Linked DNA regions of Homo sapiens: region 1 is linked to region 2. The links are contacts of gene promoters, found by promoter capture Hi-C in human tissues and cell types (Jung and others, 2019). All regions are on one chromosome and are shown on one strand. The core of a region is centred on a gene start or on the middle of the fragment in contact, and the rest is flanking DNA. Distances in the headings are between cores, read along the strand shown.

Region 1 (3,782 bases), core at 595-3,094, 51 kb before region 2:
TTATTACAGAGGCTAATTTGATTTCTATTCCTTTTAGATTTTTGGGATTGCCATTTAAGTTTCGATATTCTTGTATTAGATAAAATATGTAGATGATTCCAAAGTCAAACCTTCAAAGCAGAGTATATTCAGAGAAGTCCAGTTTTTATACCTGTCCCCCTCCTCTGTTTCCTCCTCCTTCTAGACATGTCCATTCTAAAATTTTCTTTCTTTTTAAAAATAGATATATTTAATTCTTTTTTCCATGTCCCCTCCCCTCTATCATTTCTTTCTCAATATGGAAGATTCCAGGGTACTCAAGGTCACTGAAGCCAGAAACAAGAGAGAAACAAAAGCCAGAGGCAAGAACTTCATGCTTGAAGGATCAGAACGTGCCTTAAGAGAAGTAGCTGGGTAGATTGGATGGGGACAGAGCTACCTGTGTCACTTGTCTGGAGCTACATTTATTGGCCTTAGATGAGATCAAAAGTTGGGCAGTGAGCCAGGGATGAAGTAGAAATCTCTGCTATTAGGGTGAATAGATTTTGTTACTCTAAGTGGTTATTGCTTAAATTGACTGAGCACTCACAGAATGCACAGAAAATTAGCACCAGTCTTTGGAAATGCATTTTCTAGCTACTGCTGGCATGGGTGAGGCAACATAAGAAAAACTGTGTACTGTTCCTGGGAGGGCAATTTGTCAATATATAGCCCATGTCTAAAACAAAATTAAATGAAACTCTGCTTGCCCTTTGACCCAAAATAATGCACATAGCATAAAAGAATATGTTCATGAAGGTGCAAGAACTATATTGCCTTCTTAGCATTACTCATAGTGAGAATGTGAAAAGTAAGCTAAATGTCTATCAATAGAGAATCTGCTAATTTATGGCACTTAACACATTAGAATTCCATTTAAACAATGATGATAATTGAGGACTATCCTTATTATATAAAAGACTGTCAGTGATATCTTAGGTAGAAAAGAAAAATGACAGGAAAGCGTGGGTAGTATAAGCTAGTCTTTGTTATATATGTATACATGTAAAATATATATACATATAATTTGTGTATTCTCTGGAAGGATATATACAAAAATTTAATGGTCTTTCTCTTTGGGAAAGATTTTGTTATTCTTATTTTATCTTCCATAAAGTTTTCTGTTTTGTCTGAGTGTTCAAAATGACTATAAGTAACCTCATAATCAGAAAAAGTTAATTAAGCTATTTCCATGTATGGAAAATATCTTTTCTGAAAAGTTTTGAGATGAGTATATTCATATAGAAATATTGGCTTTCTTTCCTGATTAATACAAAAGATTGATTGGCTTGCCAAATCAGAATCAGGGGAATCAGAGATCTTTCCCAGCATTAAGCTTTAGTAATAATTTCAAGGATACGGGTAATTACGAAGCAGGTAAAAATGCAAAAGTCTGGGATGTCCACACCACTTCCCAGGTCCTTTCTTGCCTCATGAAAATAAGCCATGGGATAGGTTTAACATGAAAGATCTCTAAGTGATGTCTGTGATGCATGGGTGCCCATCAGCTACCCAAAGGGGCTATTTTAGCTAGAAACATCTCCATTTTATTCTCTGGCAATTACTTAGCATTACAAACACATGACATTTTTCAAGGAGCCATGCCCTGTAAATTCATAGACTCTAAGTTTGTTTACCAGAAGCAATTGAGGACTGAGCAGATGCATTCTGCTACATAAAGACCCCTCTGCTAGTGAATATCATTAGCATATTTACCAGAAGGTCTCTTATTAGCATGTTATAAGGAGATCTGACAGAGTCAGAGTCAAGTTTTTTTTTTTTTTTTTTCTTTCCTGCCAGAAGTATCTCCTGTTAAAGGGAGAGAATTGATTTCAGGACTACTGTTAACTCTTTCCTTCTCATCTCTTAAAATGCAAAGGTATTCCCAATGAATTTCTGACTTATATGTGTGTGTTTCTTAATGGAATTTTTTTTAGGACTTTCATTATCATAGCTTTTGTATCTGTGCTCTAATTCTAATTTCTTTTACAGTGTGGGAGCCAAAAATAAAGGCAATAATCTAAGTGTGAACTTTTCAGGCCGCTTACATTTGGCAATTGCAGGAGCTGTCCAAATCCTTCAGGATTAGGAAATCCTTTAGAATAGGGATATTCACCACTCCTCCTTATACTGGGTCACCAGTAATATCGAGACTTCTATAGCTTCTTCCAAACTTTTTTTTTTTTTTTTGAGACGAAGTCTCACTCTGTCACCCAGGCTGGAGTGCAGTGGCGTGATCTTGGCTCACTGCAACCTCTGCTTCTCAGGTTCAAGCAATTCTCCTGCCTCAGCCTCCTGAGTAGCTGGGATTACAGGTGCATGCCACCATGCCTGGCTAATTTTTTGTATTTTTAGTAGAGATGGGGTTTCACCATGTTAGCCAGGATGGTCTCGATCTCCTGACCTCGTGATCTGCCTGCCTAGGCCTCCCAAAGTGCTGGGATTACAGGTGTGAGCCGCCACGCCTGGCCTCTTCCAAACCATTTCTAAGAGTATGAAATAAGCTTATCCATGTAGATCCTTTATGATATAACTGGCATTAGGTACATGCACCAAAGCTGTTGCCAGTGAGAGTCAAGGAAGCATAGCACTTAAGCGTAGGGTCTCTGATATGATGAGACATGGGTTCCAATCCTGATTCTACTGCTTATCTGTGAACTTCAGCAACTTAAGTTAAACTTTCAGTTGTATTATTTATATAAAGTCTATGGGGTTGTTTTAAGGACTAAATGAGATAATATACTCAAGGTTCCCAGTACTGTATCTGGCTCTTAAAAATGCCCTGTAACTCAAATATTTGCATTATTAATATTGGTTTTTTTTTGTTGTTGTTTTTGACAGAGTCTCGTTTTGTCTCCCAGGCTGGAGTGCAGTGGCGTGATCTCGGCTCACTGTAACTTCCACCTCCCAGGTTCAAATGATTCACCTGCCTCAGCCTCCTGGGTAGCTGGGACTACAGGCGCATGCCACCGCACCTGGTCTGCTTTTCTATACATCTTCCTCCAGGTTGCTATTCTTTCCTTAATCCTCTTTGGCATTGTCATGGAGCACTTATTAACTCATTGGGCTGCCTTTGAATCAAAACTCTGTTTATTGATCTTGTTCAGCAGGATCAATTTTCAGGTTCACTGAGAGCATCAGTGATTAAGCCGTAAAGATGTGGAACCCATGGTTATAAGAGGTTCTTCGTTATGGATGCGTGGTCTCTCTAGAGACAAGGTGATCTGACTGTTACGTGGGGCATAATCATGTGGTAGTTTTTAGGGCTGTGCTGAAACACTGAAATCCAGAAGAGACTATAGAGAGCTGAAAGCACGGTGCATCCCATTCCCTCTCTTTGCTCAGACCCACACAACAGAGAGGAAACAGTAGCCAACAGTATCTATGATAACTAGTCGTGTGCTTTTTCTTTTTTTTTTTCTTTTGAGATGGAGTCTAGCTCTGTCACCCAGGCTAGAGTGCAGTGGTGTGATCTCAGCTCACTGCAACCTCCGCCTCCCATGTTCAAGCGATTCTCCTGCCTCAACCTCCTGAGTAGCTGGGACTACAGGTGCGCACCACCACACCTAGCTAATTTTTGTATTTTTAGTAGAGACGGGGGTCTCACCATGTTGGCCAGGCTGGTCTTGAACTCCTGACCTTGTGTTCCACCCACCTCGGCCTCCCAAAGTGCTGGGATTATCATTTTGTCTTACGTTTTTGCCATAATTTGGACCCACAGGAAGCTTGATAATTTTATTAGCACACAGAGTATCACACAGGTA
Region 2 (3,857 bases), core at 1,118-3,617:
TTTGTAGAAAAAGGACTTCGAAAAGTGGGGTATGCAGTGGTCAGTGATAATGGAATACTTGAAAGTAATCCCCTCACTCCAGGAACTAGTGTTCAGCTGGCAGAACTAATAGCCCTCACTAGGGCACTAGAATTAGGAGAAGGAAAAAGGGTAAATATATATACAGGCTCTAAGTATGCTTACCTAGTTCTCCATGCCCATGCAGCAATATGGAGAGAAAGGGAATTCCTAACTTCCAAGGGAACACCTATCAAACATCAAGAAGCCATTAGGATATTATTATTGGCTGTACAGAAACCTAAAGAGGTGGCAGTCTTACACTGCCGGGGTCATAAAAAAAAAAAAAAAAAAGGAAAGGGAAGTAGAAGGGAACTGCCAAGCAGATGTTGAAGCCAAAAGAGCCACAAGACAGGACCCTCCATTAGAAATGCTTATAGAAGGACCCCTAGTGTGGGGTAACCCCCTCCAGGAAACCAAGCCCCAGTACTCAGCAGAAGAAATAGAATGGAGAACCTCAAGAGGACATACTTTCCTCCCCTCAGGATGGCTAGCCACCAAAGAAGAAAAAATACTTTTGCCTGCAGCTAACCAATTGAAATTACTTAAAACCCTTTACCAAACCTTTCACTTAGGCATTGATAGCAACTATCAGATGGCTAAATTATTATTTACTGGACCAGGCCTTTTCAAAACTATCAAATAGATAGTCAGGGCCTGTAAAGTGTGCCAAAGAAATAATCCCCTGCACTGCAGGCCATACATTTCAATCCCTGTATCTTTAACCTCCTTGTTAAGTTTGTCTTTTCCAGAATCAAAGCTGTAAAACTACAAATCATTCTTCAAATGGAGCCACAGATGCCGTCCATGACTAAGAGCTACCGTGGACCATTGGACCGGCCTGCTAGCCCATGCTCCAATGTTAATGACATCGAAGGCACCCCTCCTGAGGAAATCTCAACTGCACAACCCCTACTATGCCCCAATTCAGGAGGAAGCAGTTAGAGCGGTCGTCGGCCAACCTCCCCAACAGCACTTGGGTTTTCCTGTTGAGAGGGGGTACTGAGAGACAGGGCTAGCTGGATTTCCTAGGCCGACTAAGAATCCCTAAGCCTAGCTGGGAAGGTGACCGCATCCACCTTTAAACACGGGGCTTGCAACTTAGCTCACATGTGACCAATCAGGTAGGAAAGAGAGCTCACTAAAATGGTAATTAGGCAAAAACAGGAGGTAAAGAAATAGCCAATCATCTATTGCCTGAGAGCACAGCAGGAGGGACAATGATTGGGATATAAACCCAGGCATTCGAGCCGGCAACGGCTAACCTCTTTGGGTCCCCTCCCTTTGTATGGGAGCTCCATTTTCACTCTATTAAATCTTGCAACTGCAAAAAAAAAAAAAAAAAGAAAAAGAACTCCAAGTCTAATAAGACCAGAGACCTGCCCTTTATGGGTCTGCAGACTATTGCAGATAAACAAATAATTGGAACATGACATAGTGTGACCATCAACAAAAATATGTACAAATACAGTGATGGTGCGAAGAAGAGAGTTTGCAGCTCTGTTTAGTTGGGTCAGGGAAACTTTCACTTATATAGAGATGATTGAACTTGGTTTTGAAGGAAAACCAGGAGTTCACTAGCACCAATTATATGGAGGGGATGGGGAGTGTAATATAATCTGTAAGGAGGGATTTAAATGTGAAAAGAAACAGATTAAGGAAGTAAAAGTTCAGGAAGGTGTACCCACTAGTTTGGGAGAAACATAGATGGTTCCATAAAATGTCCCAAGAGAGGAGAGCAGAGACCAGTTTATAATAAGTTGAGTGCTGTGCTAAGGAGATTTGATCTTTTGAAAACTTTCAGTTGTTGAATTTTGCTCTACTAGATGGACAAGTCTTTATGGGAAACTCTCAAATAATATCAATTTATCTAGCCAAACCTAAAAGCAATCTTACTCCTAGAATGACTATCTGGAAGCTTTATACATTAAAAAAATTATTGTTGAATATGCTTCTGTGTCGACTAATGACTTAATTTATCTTCCAAACTGGGTTAGTTTTGTTAGAGGCAGCAGTAGCCGGATGGAACATTGGAACAATAGGAATAAGACAGGATTATCCCACACAACCCAAGGCCCACGACCAACCAACCTTGACCCAAATGGGTTGGAAGCTCAGACGGAAAGTCATAGTTCCTGCTCTCTAGGGGCGCATATCCTGAGGAAGGGGGAGGAGGGATGATATGGTGGAACATTCTGGGACTGTGAGCTCCATATTTGGGGATGTAGGTGTGTGTGTTACGGGGGTGGACTTGGAATTCCTCTCTGTCTGTGTGGGTTAAAATGAGAGCTCCGAGCGCTGATAGCTCTCAAAACTCTGGATCATCTTTAAAGACCTGTGGCACACAGACCACTGGACAAAGTTCTGCTGCCTCTTTCTCTTGGGAAGTCTGTAAATATGAAGCTGTTTCTGGTTCTCATTATTCTGCTGTTTGAGGTACTCACAGGTAACTTGTCCAAATGTACTATAACATCCTAAGAGATATTACTATTTGTAAGAGTGGGAACAGGACTTTCAAGATTATTTATATTTGGCCAAAATCATAAAAAAGTACCCATTCTCCTGGTTGCCTGACTTGAGTCTATGCCTTAGAAGAGAGGCACCCAAGGAGGTAAGAGGAGGTCAGGGCTATAGTGGACTCTCAGGAGTCCTTTTCAAAAGTATCCATGAACTCATCATCTAGAATTATCTTTATAATGCTGGACACAGTTTTCACCTGAGAGCCTGGCCATTCCCTTTTCCATTCAAATTCATTTTCAGCCTGTACTACAACAGTAATTAAAATAGCACACATTTTGGAGTCATGTCAATGTGAGGTTAAAATATGTCTTCATCATTGACGGGTTGTATGAATTAAGCACATTATTTCCTTTTAATCTCAATTTTCTCATCTGTGAAGGAGTATAATTACTATATTTCATGATTCTATTTGATGTACAGGTTACATGAACTTACAAGCACGAAGCACAAAGTTCATCGTAGAAGCCCTGTCAGTGAGAGTTACCTTCTCTCTTGCTAGGAAGAAGGCATATTGTATTTTTATGGCCCCAAAATATACTCCTCTAACCCTCAAAGATGTTCCCTGATTCTGAAGTTTAGGATAGGGAGAGTATGTCTCTCTTCTCCAACCTTATTCTTTGGGCTTGTTCAAATTTTGGGTAGAGGGGCAAATAAGGATTAGAAACAAGAGACTTAGAATTTCAGTGCATTACTCTGAGAAGGTGACAATGTAGCTCTCTAGAGCCAAATTCATGGAATTGAATTTGATCCCTGGGCAACACATTTATCTGAGATCAAGGGGAGTGTGATGAGTGACAGACAGGAGGAGCCAGGTTAAGGGAAGGAGTTCTCAATAGCACCTGTTGCTGAGACCCATGAGATCTTGTCAAAGGGAGATTTCTGTTGCCCATATCAGTGAGTGTGAAACCGAATTAAGTTAAAAAGTCTTGTTTGTGATGTTCTTTCAAAAGTTGCTTTGGCTGAGTTGTGCCAATGGTGACATGTCTTGTGCACATGGTGACATGTTAGCCGTCTCTGGGGACATGAGACTGAGATGGAGCTGAGAGAGTGCTGACTTTGGAGCTTGGTGGAGAGAGTCAGCTTTGCCATGGTCCTAGGGGTGGGACTTGGCTCTGGTTGATAACCAGGAATTGAGTTCTCTCTTCTCTTTTGTCATATCAGTTCTAATGTTCTCAGAGGCAACTGGACATTGGCTGAGAGCCTGGGCTTTTGAATGTCCTTAATTTGGGATATTTTTCAAGGAGGGGCCTCTGAGTTTCCTTTTATCAGCATAATGTTCA

Evidence for each region. The method cuts DNA at HindIII sites, captures the fragments that hold promoters and counts their contacts. A contact is called where the count stands out against the background at its distance.
Region 1: a contact is called between a fragment that was not itself captured here and the fragment with the promoter of DEFB128 in region 2, in 3 of the 25 tissues and cell types used here (heart right ventricle, mesendoderm cells and thymus).

What each region holds. Positions count from the first base shown.
Region 1 is chr20:238,502-242,283 of GRCh38, reverse strand. No RefSeq gene overlaps it. Among named protein-coding and RNA genes, the nearest start is that of DEFB129, 13 kb to the right of the region's middle. The HindIII fragment of the contact is 4,422 bases long and covers 1-3,782 here.
Region 2 is chr20:188,221-192,077 of GRCh38, reverse strand. DEFB128 (defensin beta 128) reads left to right here and starts at 2,367. Exons shown (of 2, transcript NM_001037732.3): 1 at 2,367-2,503. The coding sequence starts at 2,455. The HindIII fragment of the contact is 16,618 bases long and covers 736-3,857 here.